Regions from separate parts of the Homo sapiens genome. Here region 1 is linked to region 2. The links are contacts of gene promoters, found by promoter capture Hi-C in blood cells and fetal thymus (Javierre and others, 2016). All regions are on one chromosome and are shown on one strand. The core of a region is centred on a gene start or on the middle of the fragment in contact, and the rest is flanking DNA. Distances in the headings are between cores, read along the strand shown.

What was found. The method cuts DNA at HindIII sites, captures the fragments that hold promoters and counts their contacts. A CHiCAGO score of 5 or more calls a contact.
Region 1: a contact is called between a fragment that was not itself captured here and the fragment with the promoter of SLC35E1 in region 2, in 1 of 17 cell types (fetal thymus). The highest score is 6.7, in fetal thymus.

What each region holds. Positions count from the first base shown.
Region 1 is chr19:15,834,830-15,838,130 of GRCh38, forward strand. It overlaps LOC124900418 (collagen alpha-1(I) chain-like), which reads left to right. Exons shown (of 3, transcript XM_047439793.1): 3 at 389-2,551. The coding sequence starts at 1,573. The coding sequence ends at 2,178. UCA1 (urothelial cancer associated 1) reads left to right here. Exons shown (of 3, transcript NR_015379.3): 3 at 1-1,492. Among named protein-coding and RNA genes, the nearest start is that of UCA1, 7.5 kb to the left of the region's middle. RefSeq lists enhancers at 109-1,308, 2,089-2,318, 2,459-2,608 and a silencer at 1,739-1,958. The HindIII fragment of the contact is 1,368 bases long and covers 881-2,248 here.
Region 2 is chr19:16,570,222-16,573,683 of GRCh38, forward strand. It overlaps SLC35E1 (solute carrier family 35 member E1), which reads right to left and starts at 2,194. Exons shown (of 6, transcript NM_024881.5): 1 at 1,723-2,194; 2 at 1,291-1,361. The coding sequence starts at 2,143. LOC105372295 (a long non-coding RNA gene) reads left to right here and starts at 2,329. Exons shown (of 3, transcript XR_936360.3): 1 at 2,329-2,587. RefSeq lists silencers at 1,561-1,690, 1,851-1,960, 2,091-2,310 and enhancers at 2,229-3,103, 2,411-2,500. The HindIII fragment of the contact is 21,135 bases long and covers 1-3,181 here.

The sequences.
Region 1 (3,301 bases), core at 315-2,814, 740 kb before region 2:
CCCAGCATGCTTCCAAGCAGGCTTCATCCGTTCCTCTGGACCCTCATCTCTTAAGACCTGCCGCCTATAAAAAGGATTATATCTTGAGACCCTATCCTCTAAAATTTTTTCCACACCCAAAACAAAAAATCTCTGGGTCAAAAGTCTAAAACGCTTAGGCTGGCAACCATCAGATCCTTGCCCATGGTGTCCTCAAGCCTACTCTCATGAAATGGACAACAGTACACGCATATGGGGCCAGTTCCACATATTTGGCAACCAGACCAGCATCCAGGACAACACAAAGTATGTTGTTTGTTGTTAGAGGGCTTGGGACATTTCACTCTTTGCCAGCCTCAGCTTAATCCAGGAGACAAAGATTATTTTCCTTATTATCTCTTCTGCATAGGATCTGCAATCAGAACTATTGAACTTCTCCATTCAGACCGCCACTCACACCTATGGGAAAAGGGTAATGTATCATCGGCTTAGCAACAGGGAATACTATTCGTATGATGGAAAATGGGGACAAAAGGCTTTGGTACATAAAACATTATTCCTTCCTTGGCCTAAAAACTCATCGCCACCTACATTAAAGCTAATATGCCTGATTACTGTTTTTAGAGAACTTATTTTATTAGGGCAGTTCCAAGCTCAAAAATACGCTAACTGGCACCTTGTTAGCTACATAAAAATGCACCCTAGACCCGAAACTTACTAGACTCATTATAAAATTTTCTTTAAGGTGTCCACGCAGTCCCTGGTCACACTTGAAGCAGTCCGGAGAAATATCAGCCCTACCCCAGTAATCCCCAGAAGGAACTTACACTTTTTTTTAATCTTTTCCTACAACTTCATATTTTATAAATAAAAAGACAAAAATGTCAGGCCTGTGAGCTGAAGCTTAGCCATTGTAACCCCTGTGACCTGCACATATCCGTCCAGGTGGCCTGCAGGAGCCAAGAAGTCTGGAGCAGCCGAAAAACCACAAAGAAGTGAAACAGCCAGTTCCTGCCTTAACTAATTAACCCACCTTACGACATTCCACCATTATGACTTGTCCACCATTATGACTTGTTCCTGCCCTGCCCCAACTGATCAATCAACCCTGTGACATTCTTCTCCTGGACAATGAGTCCCATCATCTCTCCACCATGCACCTTGTGACCCCCTCCTCTGCTGAGGATAACCACCTTTAACTGTAACTTTCCACGCCTACCCAAGCCCTATAAAGCTGCCCCTCTCCTATCTCCCTTCACTGACTCTCTTTTCGGACTCAGCCCACTTGCACCCAAGTGAATTAACAGCCTTGTTGCTCACACAAAGCCTGATTGGGTGTCTTCTATACGGACACGCGTGACAGGAACCTCAACCCAAAGGCAGTCTGATGAGGTGTCTAAGATAAAAGTAGCGGCACAAAGGCTTTTGTAAACAGAGGCGTTTCATGTGGTTTTCCTTTCCTTTCCTTATATGTGAAAAGGTGACAGAAAAGAAATCTTCCTAAAAGAGTCAGCCACTGCTCTGTGGAACGATGATCATTTAAATGCCACGTCGATTTGAAACGTACAACAAAGGGACTAACAGTTGAGAACCATGTGGATTGCAGTGGAGACGCTGGCGTTAGAGAATGCGGGGAGGGAAACGTTCATTACAAGATTTACGGCCAGCCCAAGGGGGAGCGAGGCTGGGGGACCGGGTCGCGGAGACCCGGCTTCGCACACCTTTTGGAAGACTCAGGGAGAAGCGGGGGCCGCCTTCGGGGGGAAAGGCGGGACTGGGGAGCCCACAGGCCATGGCTCCTCCCACAGGATCCCCAGGCCGGAGGCGGGATCCCCCCATGATCCTCCCGTGGCCCCCGCACAATCTGGGGAGATGCGGAGCTGCCCAGAGAGGGCTCTGGGGCGACAGTCACTGCGCAGGGACAGGACAGGACTCCCGGAGTCCCAGCTGCCGGCCCAGCCCCACCCTGCGGCCGAGAGGACCGAGGGCCGAGCTGCTCCAGGGGAACTCGGGTCCCAGACCCCGGAGTCGCAGCGGACAGGCCCGGGTCCCGCCACAGCCAGATCCGGCTGGTTCCACCAGCTCCTCCTCCGGTCTCGGGACGTCCGGCCCCGCACACTCAGCATTTCCGGCTTCCGGGTGTCCCGGCGTCCTCCCCTGGGCCTGCTCACGTCGCAGAGGGGCGGCGACGGGGATTAGAGGGGAGGAGGGCCTGCGCGAGCAGCAAAGACCCCAAACCCCAAAAAACAAAGAAACCGCCAGAAACTGAAGCTTCCACAGCCCGCCACGTCCCCCGGCTACGGCTACGCTCCTGATTGGATAGTTAGTACGGCCCCTAGTGCCCCTGATTGGATACCGCTTCAGGTCCCGCCCCCTGGGGTTAGAAAGACAGGAGACCCGAGAAGACACTTGGCTGCGTGGAGCCCAAATGGGCGGTTCCTGGCAACTGGGCTTGTTGTCTTCCTCGTGTCAGGATGTAAAAAGAAAAGTAGAGGTTCTTCTTCAAAGACTTCCTTCTTCATCTAATTAAGAATAAATAGTGTTTGAAATGCTTGGTTTTTGGTGCCATAAAGAAATAGCACTTTAACATTAATTTATTTAGCAAGGCCATTTTTACTCCCTGCAGAAAGGGTACACTCGCCAGCAGTTTTGCCACGAGCGTACACCGAGCAAAGGAGACAGGGTCATTTATAACCTGAGGTGTCCACCCTACTGCTGTGTCCAGTTTCCATTGGCTGGAACGGGACCTCACATTCTGTGTTTGTCCTGATTGGCTAGCAACTTAGAACGTTTTAAAAGAGGCAAAGGTGGAGGAGAACAAAGGAAGAAGGAAGTAACTTGTGGAATGCTGAGAAAGGTAAAAACACCTTCAAATAAGGAAGAGGAAGAGGCTATGACTTAATGCTTGCTTGGACCAGTATAAGCATACCAGGGCAAATATTTGGGCTAAATTGTGGGAGCTAAGAACATAAAGTATATTGATTTCTTTATTATGGCTAGCAGATATTTAAGAATGTTAGCACAGGTCTTTGAATAAATTTTGCTTTTAAGAGAAGTTACTATTTATTCCTAATCGAATGGGAAGGAAAATTTTTGAAGAGGAACCTCTACTTTACTTTTTACAAACAATAACTTGTTTTAGAAGCAACATTTATTTAAAGACTTGTACTAATATTCTTAAATATTTGCTAGCTGTAATAAAGAAATCAATGTACTTTATGTTCCTAGCTTTTACATTTTAGCTTAAATATTTGCTTTGGCATGCTTATACTAGTCTAACCAAGTATTAGGTCGTAGCTTGTTCTTTATTTGAAGGTGTTTT
Region 2 (3,462 bases), core at 944-3,443:
GCAGCTACACACCTCAGGGACAACTCTGACTTCTCAGGAGCCAAGTCACAGCCTGACATCACCCTGGGGGAGCAGGGCTACAGAGCACACACAGGTCTTGCTGAGACAAAGACAGGCAGGAATAAAAAAAAATCAGCCATAGGTGGCCCAATTTCTATAAGCCGATCCAGGGCACTACCTCTCTGAGTTACATAAAATACAACATGCCAGAAACCAACCACTTGGAAAAGAGGCACGGTGTCCAGCATCAGCATGAAATGGATTCCGGCTGAGACAACAAGCGCCCAACTTCCACTTAAGAATACGGGATAAAGCTGTCTCCGGCTAAAGCCATGGCTATTCTTGCCCCAAGCCAGGAAATACCCTGGCTTGGCATCTTGAACAGAATTTGGACTGTGCCCAAAGCATCCTCCTTATGCAGCCCTGAGTCCTGTGTGCCACTTTCGCTTCCGTTCCCAGACCATCACAACTTCTGGCTGTTTTAATTTCTAAGACTTTGCTGGATTTTGCCAAGATCGAACTCCTTGGATCGCGTCTGGCTTCTGATCCCAGAGGTCCCCTGACAGAAATCTCTTGTCAAGAAGTGAAAACCTAGCCAAGTGCAGTGGCTGACGCCTGTAATACCAGCACTTTGGGAGGCTGAGGCGGACGGATCACTTGAGGTCAGGAGTTTGAGACCAGCCTGGCAACATGGTGAAACCCTGTCTCTATTAAAAATACAAAAAAATTAGCCAGGTGTGGTAGTGCACGTCTGTAGTCCCAACTACTTGAGAGGCTGAGGCAGGAGAACTGCTTGAACCTGGGAGGCGGAGGTTGCAGTGAGCTGAGATTGTGTCACTGGACTTCAGGCTGGGCAAGAGTAAAACTCCGTCTCAAAAAAAAAAAAAAAAAAGTGAACACCTAACCGACAGCGTTCTGATCCATCCATCCCTAGTCCCACTGGAAAGGCCACACATGGGGTGTATGGCCAAGATGTGACCAACCCATCACCTACCAGCAAACCCAGGTAGGGAATCAAAACGGGGAGGAAAATTGGATCTGAAAGGGACAACAGTGTTCCTAAGACCACACAGCAGAGATCACAGAGGGACACATACTCCACACACCACTGCTCACAGGGTGATTCTAGAACTTGAGTAGTAAAAGGCCACTGGAGACCTCTACACTGACTTCCCTATTTGACGGGAAGCCAGGCAGCCTGCAGACCAGGATCCTGACCACGTCACCAGTTGGCAACAGGGAGGAACCCCCTGGAGCTCCCATCTGCCCAGAGTCCCTGCCCGGGGTTACCTTGGTGCTCTGCTTCTCCTTCATAATGATCCGGGACAGGAGGACCACCCAGATGGGCATGGTGGCCTTGACTGCAAAGAGAGGGATGGGCACTCAGGGGGCTGCCTGAATTTCAGGGCCCAACCTGTTCCACCTCCACGGCGGGATGGGAGGGCCTGGCAGCCCCTCACACCTCTTCGCCCCTTCTCTTTCGGTAGGGCTTCCTCCTGCCACGGCTGTTGTGGTCTGTCCTGCTTACCTCTCAGCTCTCTTCTCAGCTCCTCTTCTCCCTGAGAACCCCGTGCGTGTCCCTCCCCTACCAAACCCTTGGCAGCCCCTCTGCTGACTTCTCAGTCCGGCGGGACGCGCCCCGGGCGGCGCACTCCTATCCATGCGCCCAAACCCGAAGCGGCGGGCCCGGCCGCCGCCCCCGAGGCCGGGCGCGGAACCTACCGGTGTGTGCATAGGACACGGGCACCTTCCAGATGCTGACGTGCGCTGACACGGACGCGAAGTACTTGCCGAAGGCGAGCGGTAGCACGTAGCGCGGGTAGAAGCGCGGCGGCAGCAGCGGGCCGGACGACGGATGCGGACTGGGTCCGGGGCCCGAGACGGGCGGCGCGGGGGGCACGCGCCAGGCGCGCAGCAGCGGCGGGAGCCCAGCGCACAGAGCCAGGATGTGGCACAGCGACACGGTCACCGGGAACGGGAAGGCGCTCAGGATCACCTTGTTGACCACGTTGCCGCCCGCGCTCAGCGCGTACCACAGCAGGCACAGCGCCGCCACCCGCGCGCCCTCGCGCGCCCCACCACTGCTGCTCGCTGCGCCCGGGCCCCCCGCGCCGTGGCCCGCGCCCACCGCGGCCGCCGCCATCCTGCCCGAGCGGCCGCCCCTTCCAGCCCGTCCGACGGCCCGACGCCGGGCGGGGGCGGGGCTGGGCGGGGGGGCAGGCGCCCCGGTCTACGCCGTTTCCCATTGGTCGCTGCCTCCTCGCGTCATCCCTCCGCGCCGGCCGACGCGCCAGCCACCACGTCTCGAGTGCAGGCCCAGTCCACTGTAGATGCGCTTCCGGCGGAGCCGAGGCCGGAAGCGGAAGAAGGGGACACAGACCTGCGTCCAAGCTGTGCCACCTGAGACGTGGGCGGTCCCAGTGACCGGGAGCCGGAGCTCGAACGGGACGGGCGAACAGAAGCGCGGAGGGCTTCGCAGCGTCGGCGTCTGTGCGTGGGCCAAACATCAGGGCCTCGACCAGGGATACAAGGGCAACCGCTAACTAGATTCCTGATTCCTGATGGCTGGCGGCGGCTGACACCAAAGGTAAAAGGCCTTTTAGGGAAAGAAACCATTTGTGAAAAGCTCTTGGGCTAAACTCGCTCTGCAAACTGGGGGCGCACGCTCGTGGCCAAACTCTGGCAGTGGGACTATCCCGGAGCACCCGATCCCTGGAATCATGTTCTGGAAACCACCGCGACGTGCGCAGTTCTCGGGCGTGGCCCTGGTATCATCCCACTGAATCCTAGGAACGCGGTGCGGTAGGTATCACTGTCCGCATTTCACAGACCGAAGTCCAGAATGGGGAAGCGACTTGTCTTAGGCTTCCTGGCCACACTGGGGACCGTGGTCATGGTAGCGTCCTTGGACACCTGTCTCCAAGGCTCTGCAGAAGGGGGAGGTGCCGGGCCCTGACGGCTGATGTCCAAGGACCAGCCGGGATGGACCAGCCCCAGGAGGCCCCAGTGGAGGAAAACAGGACGAGGTTTTCAGTAAGATGATCTTATACTAATTCAAGGGCTATAATTTGTTCTCCACATCGTGTGCCTCCAACTTTTTCGGGGAAAGGGTGTTAAAATTCCGTTACAGTGTTTTTACTTGTCAAATTAGAAGCAGCAACCGGCTGGGTGCAGTGAGTCAAGCTTGGAATCCCAGCACTTTGGGAGGCCAAGGTGGGCGGATTGCTTGAGCTCAGGAGTTGGAGATCGTGGCATCGATAACATGGCAGAACCTCATCTTTGCAAAAAATACAAAAATTAGCCAGGCGTGGTGGCGCACGCCTGTGGTACCCACTACTAGGGAGACTGAGGTGGGTGGATCGGCTTGAGCCCAGGTCAAGGTTCCAGTGAGCTATGATGGCGCCACTGCACTGCAGCCTGGGTGACAGAGCGAGACCCAGTCTCAAAGAAAAGTAGAAAGCA